2 separate regions of the Homo sapiens genome follow, and region 2 is linked to region 1. The links are contacts of gene promoters, found by promoter capture Hi-C in blood cells and fetal thymus (Javierre and others, 2016). All regions are on one chromosome and are shown on one strand. The core of a region is centred on a gene start or on the middle of the fragment in contact, and the rest is flanking DNA. Distances in the headings are between cores, read along the strand shown.

The links. Contacts are between HindIII fragments. The CHiCAGO score rates a contact against its expected background, and 5 or more counts as called.
Region 2: a fragment that was not itself captured here is called in contact with the fragment with the promoter of C19orf12 in region 1 in 1 of 17 cell types (activated CD4 T cells); the score reaches 5.1 in activated CD4 T cells.

What each region holds. Positions count from the first base shown.
Region 1 is chr19:29,714,011-29,717,896 of GRCh38, forward strand. C19orf12 (chromosome 19 open reading frame 12) reads right to left here and starts at 1,251. Exons shown (of 3, transcript NM_031448.6): 1 at 1,115-1,251. RefSeq lists a silencer at 786-1,575 and enhancers at 1,746-1,845, 2,391-2,610. The HindIII fragment of the contact is 2,629 bases long and covers 1-2,537 here.
Region 2 is chr19:33,174,691-33,181,122 of GRCh38, forward strand. TRT-AGT1-3 (tRNA-Thr (anticodon AGT) 1-3) reads left to right here and starts at 2,367; the gene lies at 2,367-2,440. It overlaps LOC124904691 (a long non-coding RNA gene), which reads right to left and starts at 2,188. Exons shown (of 2, transcript XR_007067228.1): 1 at 1-2,188. WDR88 (WD repeat domain 88) reads left to right here. Exons shown (of 11, transcript NM_173479.4): 11 at 706-1,109. The coding sequence ends at 882. RefSeq lists enhancers at 1,260-2,024, 1,737-1,806, 2,897-2,956, 2,967-3,086 and silencers at 2,007-2,166, 2,367-2,726. The HindIII fragment of the contact is 1,280 bases long and covers 2,224-3,503 here.

The DNA.
Region 1 (3,886 bases), core at 1-2,500:
TCTCTTTCCCTCTCCCCTTCCTTCCTGCTTTTTGTTGTTGCTGGTGTTGTTGTTGTTTTTTCCAGAAACGCAGTCTCCCTGTGTTGCCTAGGCTGGTCGGGAACTGGCCTCAAGCAATTCTTCCGCCTCGGCCTCCCGAGTAGCTGGAACTACAGGTGCTATTCCAAGATGGTGAAACCCCGTCTCTACTAAAAAATACAAAAATTGGTCGGGGTGGCTCACGTCTGTAATCCCAGCATTGCAGAAGGCTGAGGCAGGTGGATCGCAAGGTCAGGAGTTTGAGATTAGCCTGGCCGATATGGTGAAACTCCGTCTCTACTAAAAATACAAAAAAATTAGCCAGGCTTGGTGGTGTCGCCTGTAATCCCAGCTACTAGGGAGGCTGAGGCAGGGGAATTGCTTGAACGAGGGAGGTGGAGGTTGCAGTGAGCCGAGATCGCGCCATTGCACTCCAGCCTGGACAACAGAGCAAGACTGTCTAAACAAAAGCTCAACAAACTACCTGCCATCCCCAAAACTAATCTCACCTCCTAAAGCATTAACGACCCTTCCTGACCAAATCTAAACTAGCGCCCAGATTTTCTTCCCATATGGCTCAGCCCAGCTCCGCTGCCCCACAGGTGTCCTGTCAGGATCCGCTTCACATTTATAATACCTAGCACCCCACCCCCAGCCCCGCCCCTGCCCCACCAGCCACCCCCACTCTACCCCACCCCTACCCATCACATTCCGCACCCCACCCCCGCCAAACCCACATCCCCACCCCACCCAACCTCACCCACTCCCACCACATCCACCACCCGCACCCCACCCCCACCCACCACACCCATGCCTACGCCACTCCTGGGTGACAGCGAGCCAGGGCCCGGGACTCTAGTCCCAGCTCTGCTGCTTACTTGTGTGACTTCAGCCTCTCCATGCCTCAGTTTCTCCATAGGGACAATGACTACACTAACAGTGTCCACCCCGGCACCGGGAGGGCCGGGCTCCCGGCAGGGCGGGGACCCTCTCCCCAAGGCACTCCCGGGTCTCCAGGCCTGCTCTTGGGGTGCCCCCTCCTCTCGCGGGGCGCGGCCTGGGAGGCGCCCCGCCCCGGCTCCGGGCGCTCCTTTACCTGGGGGAGCGGAGGTCTACGCGGCGCGCTCGGCGATCAGACGCGGCTGCAGCCCGGGCCTGGCAGGCCCCGGGCTCCCCGCCCAGCTCCCCAGCCCCGCGGAGGGTCGCGCAGGCCTTGGTGGCGGCCCCGGCGCTGGCCCCGCCCTCCGTCCCACCTTCCGGCTGCGCCGGGCCTTCCGGGAAGCCACGCGCCGGGCCAGCTCCTGGCTCCGAGCTGCGCCCGGCCTTAGGGGGAGCCGGGGGTCGCTGCTGGGCACCCCCTCCCCGGTCCTGGCCCACCCCGCCGCTGTCACCGGGGCCCTGGCTTGGGTTGCGGGTGGCGTAAGGAGACGAGGCGCCCGGAGAAGAGTCCTGGGAACCGCAAGGCCGCGCTCCCGCAGGCCCAGCCCTGCCTTTCTCCCACGCGCACGCATGATCACATCCGGGCCCCGCGCACCTGCCTCCAGGACCGCGGGGACCTCCCGGAGACCTCCCTCCCTTTGGCCTGGAGGACCCCTCTCTCCCCGCAGCCTGGGCACAGAAGAGAGCACAGGGGCATCTGGAGGTCAAGGGTGCTGCGTCAGTATTTGGTGAATGTGTGGGCCGGAGCCAGATTTCCTCTGTTCCAGAGCCTGCTCTGGAGCCTCTGGGTCTGGGGGTTGCAAAAGGAGAAGCAGGTTGGGTGGGACTCGTAATCCCAGCTGCCAGTGAGGCTGAGGAGGGAGGATTGCTTGAGCCCAGCAGTTCGAGCGTGGGCAACACAGTGACATCCCATCTCTACAAATAATAATAAAAATTAGGCCGGGTGGGTGAGTCATACCTGTGACCTACAGCATTTTGGGAGGCTGAAGCGGGAGGATTGCTTGAGCCCAGGAGTTCGAGGCTGCAGTGAACTATGATCCCACCACTGCACTTCAACCTGGGTGACAGAGTGAGACCGTCTCTTAAAGAAAGAAAAAAAAGGAAAAGAACTGGCTTTGCTCTTAGGAGTCTTGGATGGGGACCAAAGCTGAGGCAAGGCAGCCTCTTAGGAAGGTGCAAAGGGCATGAGGCTGGGGTTGCAGAACTGCCTGGGAATACTACTTTATTGAGGCCTGTGGAAAGCTGTCCCTACTCTTGTCATGCAAGGTCTGGCCTTGAACCATCTCAAATCCAAAAGTGGCTTCTGGGGGGCTCTATAGAGAATTAATCCTAACAGGAACCCTGCAAAGCAGGCATGGTTGTCACTGCTATATTACAGATGGGAAGCTCTAAACACAGGCTGCTCTGCCCAAGGCCATCCTGGTTAGAAAGTTTCAGGGCCCAAACTCCAGCCTCGGTCTCGGTATCTCAAAGTCTCCGCCTGTGACCAGCACTCTGCCTGCTTTCCAGGGTGCCATGGGCACCCAGAGGACGGACCCTTTTCCATTTTTAAAAGAATGGAACAAACGCTCTTAATACCAAGCTTCCCCAGGCCTTGGCTGGGATAAAACAACCCCATTTATTCCTGAATCGGAGCTTTTGCTTGAGTTTGGGTGACTTTCAAGAGGGAAAGTGAACTGAGGCCAGGGGAACTCAGCTTGCTGCCTTCCTGGGGCCTGAGTGTGGCGCTCCCGTTTCTCTGCGGGCAGCTCCCTCTGGCGGCACATTGCAGAACTGGCCTGCAGACTCCTCCCCCAGAGATAGTGGGGAAGAGGGCCTGTGTAGGGAAAGATGCTGGGAGTGAAAGAAGCTTCAAAGTCCAGGCCCTCCAGAGAAGGCAAGCATGTAAGAGGTTCATGCAGCCCAGCGCGGTGGCTCACACCTGTAATCCCAGCACTTTGGGAGGCCGAGGCGGGCAGATCACCTGAGGCCAGGACTTTGAGACCAGCCTGGGCAACATGGTGAAACCCCATCTCCACTAAACATGGAAAAATGAGCCAGACATGGTTGGTGCAAGCCTGTAGTCCCAGCTACTCGGGAGGTTGAGGCAGGAGAACCGCTTGGACCCGGCAGATGGAGGTTGCAGTGAGCCGAGATCGCGCCATTGCATGCAAATCTGCAACCCATCAGCCTCCTGGGCCTCATTCTGATACGAATGCAGGCATAACATGACCGCACACTCTGAACCCCAGAGATGGAGCACACAGTGCCTCATGCTCCTAAAGGCAACTGCGGCCTCCTGCACAGTGAGCAAGGCGTGCCGTGGGGTCTCGGTGGTGGCGCGGAAATGGCACTGGCCCAGCACACAGCGATGCTTTATGCTGCTTACAGTGACCTAGGGAAAGTTCTTCCACGTCTCCGTGCCTCAGTTTCCTCATCTGGGAAATGGCAACAAGAGTAGTACTTATCCTATAGGGTTGTTCTCAACATAAAAGGAGGTAATATATATGAATCTAGATTATTCTTGTTTACATTACAGAATGTGAAAATGAGCGGCTTCTCCAAAGTCCCATGAGCCTCATGGGCCCAAGGTAGTGGGAAATCCAGTTCTACCCCCACCTTGACAAAACATTCTCTTGCTGATGGGCCCAACAATGCCCTAGGGTGCTAGGTGGTGTTCACACGGCCAGCCAGAGTCAAAACTCAGACGGGGCCAGCGTTCTATGCCCTCACTTTCTCCCAAAGCTGAGTGCACCAGCTCCTAAAACTTCCATGGCTCCTTCAGGCTAAAGCCACCCACCTAGACCAGGGCTGGATGATCCGCAATGTGGGCCACACCCAAAAACCCTATAGCTTCTTTTGTTGTTTCTTTTTTTTTTTTTTTTTTTTTTTTTTTTTTGAGACGGAGTCTCGCTCTGTGGCCCAGGTGGGAGTGCAGTGGCGCAATCTC
Region 2 (6,432 bases), core at 1,614-4,113, 3.5 Mb after region 1:
GGGAGTCATCCTCTTAGTCCCACAATTTTACTCGGCACAGAACAATGGATGGGGCGGGACACTCACCCCCATCCTCCCAACTGTCAAGGGGCTTGCCACGCATGTCCTCAGGACCCCCATGGCAGGAGACATGAGCTGGCAGGAGACATGAGCTGGCAGGAGACATGAGCTGGCAGGACCTGCTTAGCCATTGGTGGGGAAGCAGCCTGTGCTCATTCTCTCTGCAATTTCCGCCTTTGTGGGGTTAGAGATTCCAGAGAGGGGCTGCGCCCAGTGGCTCACGCCTGTAATCCCAGCACTCTGGGCTGCCAAGGTGGGTGGATCACTTGAGGCCAGGAGTTCAAGACCAGCCTGGCCAACATGGAGAAACCCCATCTCTACTAAAAATACAAAAATTAGCAGGATGTGGTGGTGCACGCCTGTAATCCCAGCTACTCGGGTGGCTGAGGCAGGAGAATTGCTTGAACCTGGGAGGCGGAGGTTGCAGTAAGCCTAGATGGTGCCACTGCACTCCAGCCTGGGCAACAAAGTGAGACTCTGTCTCAAAAACAAAAACAAAAACAAACAAACAAACCAAAAAGAGATTCCAGAGAGGGGAACCCTTGCCTTGCCCCAGCTCAAGGTAGCTGGGAGAATTCTAATGGCATGCCTGGATCACCTCTGACCAGCACCTCCTTTCTGCTCTTTTAAAATATCCCATGTCAGTGCGAAAGATGTGACAGGCCTTTCTCCATCTTCAAGAGTGACACCTCTTCTGAAATGTTCACCCAATGCGTGTTCTGCCGGATAGATACAAGGGGCTTGCCAGCAGATACTTCATCGTCATCATCATCATCGGAAAGGGAGAACTCACCGCCGCCAAGGGGAAGCAAGGATGACTGACAGCCACAGGCCCCTTTGAGTGACTCCAGCACAGGCTACCTAGCATGTAGGTTTCGGGGCTTTGCAGGGGCTTTCTCTTGGGCCCCTCCCAGGCTCAGCAGGCCTGTCAGACTGGGGCAGGACCCAAGCCCTGGCTGGACTCAGCACAGTGCCACCTCCTCAGCTCTCAGCTTGGGGAGTGAACACTTTCCGTTTTCATGCAGAATAAATCTAATTCCTTTGGAAAACAAGCGTGCATGTGCATCTGAAAAGCAGTCTTGCTATTTCTAAGCTTTATGTCTTGGTGCTCATCCTGTTTGATTCTTGGAACACATATTAGACTCACATTGTGGAGTCTGGAGTTGCCCTGTAAGGTGACCTGTGGGGGCTGGCACCAGCAGTTCTGGAGAGTTTGTCAAATGAGTATGACAAGGTGTGGGGCCCCCTCTGTGGACGTGATGGCAAGACACAATGAGTGCCTCCCTGGCTAATGCTCCCAGATGGCCACTTGCCCGGAGCAGAGGACGGTTTGGTTAGGCAAGGGGGTGGCGGTGGCATTGCCATCACGGGATGTCTCACGCTTTCTCCTCTAGACGTCTTAATTTCCAGAACCCCTTGCTTATGTGCAGCCCTCTTCCTGCTGCCACGGCATTTTGCACAGCGTGCATCAATCCAGAAATAGGCTGAGATAGGAGCTTAGTTTCCTATTGCACACCATGCTGGGTGAACCTTTCTGTGCATGCTGCAGGGATGCTGGGTGGATGGGTTGGCAGTGTTCGGCTTCGTAGTTGCCCACAGGCCCTCTGGAAAGTGCGGAGACCAGTGGCTGGTGTAGTTGCGTGAGGACACCCAGAAGGGGTCAGTGAGAAACTAGGGAGGGGAGGGCCTTGCCTGCTCTGGCAGCAGAAACCCCTCCATGTAAGGTGTTGGTGCTCCACGCCAGCAGCCTGGGAACCCTGAAGTCCACGATCCCTCCTGAGCCTTCCGGACCCCTCGACTTTCCCCCAGCTCAGGATCCGCGGAAGTAGCGACTCAACTGAAGTTATAGTCCCGGGAGCTGGCAGGGCCCCGGGTCTTCTCAGGCTGAGGTCGCGGGGCAGAATGGTCCGAAGCTCACCGGGGTCACAGTCGGACCGAGGCGGGTGTGCGCCTCGACCGGACGCCAGGGGAGCCAGCAGCCCGGCCGCGCTGGCGGGGCCGGGGGTTCTCCGGAGTGGGTAGGGGCTCGACCGCACTGCCCTGAGTCCCAAGCCCTGCACCAGCGTTCCCCAAAGGCGGAGCGTCCTGGCTCCACGTTGGAAGAGACATTACCGTGACCAGGAAGTCTGGCCTTCCCAGGCTCCGCCCGCTCCGTGCAGCCCAAGCTTCCGGTCTCAGTCTCAGCTGCCTGTGTGAATCGGAAGCTACACTACGCGTGCGCCACAACAGGCCGAATGTGTGCGCATGCGCGCGGCCCATATGGTAAATAGTAATGAAGAATAGTTTAGGAAAGTACCTGTACGGGTGGCGCCGTGGCTTAGTTGGTTAAAGCGCCTGTCTAGTAAACAGGAGATCCTGGGTTCGAATCCCAGCGGTGCCTCAACCGAGCGTCCAAGCTCTTTCCATTTTTGCTCCTGCACTTTTGTGCTCTGTACCCGGCTGCCCGATACTATGAGGGTGTGAGCGGGATCCCGAGAGGCCTAGGTAGACGGGCCCCCCAACGGGGCGTGGCCTCGGCCACGGGGGCGGGTGCAGGCGGGCTTCGGACTCCACCTTCTCGGGTCTCAGGCTCTGTGGGGCGTAGGCGGCGCGGGGACCCAGGCGACCGCGGTTGCCATGGTGCTGGCTGGCCGTGGGAGGCGAGCGGCGGGCTGGGAAGCAGCTGTGCGAGTCCAGCGAGGAGCCGGTGTTCGCCCCGAGGCTGCTTCCTCAGGGCGGGCGGTGGACGCGCTCTCCCACGCCGCCTTCTGTGGCGTGGGTTCCTCGCGCTAGTCTTCCTGGCTCCAAGCTGCCACTTGGGGGAGCCCACGCGGGTGCCGATCCTCGACGTTCGCCGGGCTTAGCTGAGCCTCGCAAAGGCCTGAAGATTGCCCGTCTCCCTGCAGCCGCGCAGTGGGTGCAGCCTTTTCACAAATGCAAGACCTGGACCGGCGGCGAGGCCAAGGGGACCCCGTGTGGAGGGATGCGGGACTGAGTCCGGTTAGCGTGATCCTCAGTCCGATGACTGCGTGGAAACTCCAGGCCAGGCAGGGGACTCTGCCCCAGCTGCAGACGGCCGGGTGTGGGCTGAAGCCAGCTGCCTGGGCTGGGGTTGGTTGCTCAGCGCTGGGGTTCTACCCACATTTGTATGTGGGAACCTATTCCTGAGCAAGTGCATTCGAGGCTTTGGGGGTGGTGGGGTAGGGTGGGGTGAGGCATTGGAGTTTTTACAAACATTCTCCAGGGATTCACATGTCAAACCCGACAGGACAGTCCCAGTGCAGAAATTGCAGTCATGGCATAGGCTGTGTAGTCAAATTCACCTGCCCCAGAAGCAGTTCCTCTTCCTGCCTCTTCTATGGATCTGGGTTTATTGTTTTTGTTTGTTTGTTTATTTCTGTCGTTTTCTAGTCAATTCTCGCGCTTTTGTATCTTGGTTGTTTTTGACTGACATTGCCTAGGAAAGCTTGTAAGGAGACTTTGACGTTTTGCAGTGCTGATAGGAGCGTTCACCTGGATCCAATTAGGGATGAATTTATTGGAAACTGGGCTTGCGTCATTGTGGAGCTGGTTTATTTCTGGCTCATACTTACGCCACTGCAATCCAGCCTGGGCGACAGAGCGAGATTCCATCTCGAAGAAAAAATAAAAATTAAAAAGTCCCTCATTGGATACAGGGTTTGAAATCTTTTCTCCGTTTCCTTTTCTCTTTGCTATTTATTTATTTATTTATTTATTTATTTACTGAGATGGAGTCTTTGTCGCCCAGGCTGGAGTGCAGTGGTGTGATCTCTGCTCACTGCAACCTCCGCCTCCCCGGTTCAAGCGATTCTCCTGTCTCAGCCTCCCGAGTAGCTGGGATTACAGGTGCACATCACCACGCCCGGCTAATTTTTGCATTTTTAGTAGAGACGAGGTTTCATCATGTTGGCCAGGCTGGTCTCGAATTCCTGACCTCAGGTGATCCGCCCCGCCCACCTCAGCCTCCCAAAGTGTGGGGATTACAGGTGTGAGCCACCGCATTTTTTTTTTTTTGAGACAGAGTCTCACTGTGTCACCAGGATGGAGTGCAGTGGTGTGATCTCTGCCCACGGCAACCTCCACCTCCCGGGTTCAAGCGATTCTCCTGCCTCAGCCTCCCAAGTAGCTGGGACTACAGGCGCGTGCCACCACGCCCAACTAATTTTTGTATTTTTGGTAGAGACGGGGTTTCACCATGTTGGCCAGGATGGTCTCGATCTCTTGACCTCTTGATCCGCCTGCCTTGGCCTCCCAAAGTGCTGGGATTACAGGTGTGAACCACCGTGCCCGGCCTTCTTTGCTTTCTTAATACTGTCATTAGAAGTGCAAACGTTTCAATATTGATCAAGTCTAATGTATCTACTTTTCCTTTTTGCTTATGCTTTTGATGTCATATTCAAGACTCCATTGCCAAGTTCAAGGTCATAAAGATTTACACTAATGTTTTCTTATAAGGGTTTTATAGCTTTTGCTCTTACATTTAAGTTTTGGATCTACTTTGAGTCAATTTTGTATATGATGTGAAGGAGGGGTCCAGCTTCATTCTTTTGCATGTGGATTTTCATTCATCCAAACGCCATTTGTTGAAAAGACTATTCTGTTCCCAAAGGTCTTGGCACCCTTGTGGAAAATCAATTGACCATAAATATGAGGGCTTATTTGTGGTTTTCTAATTCTAGTACCTTAATCTACATGTCTAGCTTTATGCCTGTGCCACACTCTTGATAACTATAGCTGTGTACTAAATTTTCAAATTGGGACGTATGAGGACTTCAAAGTTGTTATTTTCAAGATTGTTCTGGCTATTCTGGGTCTGTTGAATTTCCATGAGTTTTAGAATCAGCCTGTAAATTTCTGCAAACAATCCAGTTGGGATTTTGATAGAAATTGCATTTGATAGAAATAAATCATTTGGGGGGATATTGTTATCTTAATAATGTTAAGTTTTCTAATCCATGAACATGGAATGGCTTTCAATTTATTTAGGTCTTCTTTAATTTCTTTCAACAAGGTTTTTAGTTTTCAGAGCATAAGTTTTACACCTCTTTTGTTAAGCACATTTCTAAGTATTTTCTTTTTTTGATACCATTATAAGTAGATTTTTTTTTTTTTTGAGAAGCAGTTTCACTCTTATTGCCCAGACTGGAGTGCAGTGGTGCGATCTTGACTCACTGCAACCTCCACCTCCCAGGTTCAAGCAATTCTCCTGCCTCAGCCACCCAGGTAGCTGGGATTACAGGCGTGTGCTACCACGCCTGGCTAATTTTTGTATTTTTAGTAGAGGCAGGGTTTCACCATGTTGCCCAGGTTGGTCTCCGACTCCTCGCATCAAGAGATCTGCCTGCCTCGGCCTCCCAAAATGCTGGGATTACATGCAAGAGACACTGTGCCCAGCCTGGGTCCCATATATTTCTTGCTGGGGTTATTTCTAGATACTGTGAATGGGATAATTCCATTTTTTAAAAATTGCATGCTCCTGCTAAATAGGAATGCCTTTGATGTTTAAATGTGGCTCCTTAAAGCAGCCCTCTTGCCTGACTGTCTTGACTGTCTTATTACTGCTGATTGCTTGTTTGATTTTTGGGCAGATTCTGAATTGTGCAAATTGGGATGGTGAATGATAACTTTGATCTTAAAGGGAAAAAAAGGACAACTTACAAACAAGAAAAAGATATCTACAACACATATAAGTGACAAAATAATTTTTAGCAGAGGAAGGGCCCAAGGGGTATAGCAAAGCAGTGAAAATTACCGCATTCTATCAGAATCTGAAAAGCTGGGTTATGAACAATCCCAGCCTTCAGTATTTATCCAAAATAAATGAAAACAACGTCCATAAGAAAATGCCACAGATGCTCTCAATACAATAGTAAAAAACTAGGAACAGCCCAGGTGTCCACAGGAGATGAATAAACTGTGGGTTATCCAGGCAATGGACCACTACACAGCAAGAGAAAGGGATGGGATGCTGACACTTACACAGACGTGGGTGGAATCTCACGTCGTGTACAGTGAAACAGTACATCATTTATGATTTCACTTACATAAAGCTCTAGGAAATGCAAATTAATCTATAGTGACAGCAGAGCAATGGTTGCATAGGTGGCAGAGATTGATTTCTTGAAAATGGGTACAAAAAGACCTTCGAGGGGTTGATGGAAATGCTCTTTATTTTGTAGGAGTTTGGGTGTGTGTTTATCAAAACTCATTAAATTGTATGCTTAAGATCTATGCATTTCACAGCACAAAAGTCAATCTAATCTAAATAAAAATATTAAAGGCCGGGCACAGCGGCTCATACCAGTCATCCCAGCAGTTTGGGAGGCCAAGGCGGGTGGATCACTTGAGCTCAGGAGTTCAAGACCAGCCTGG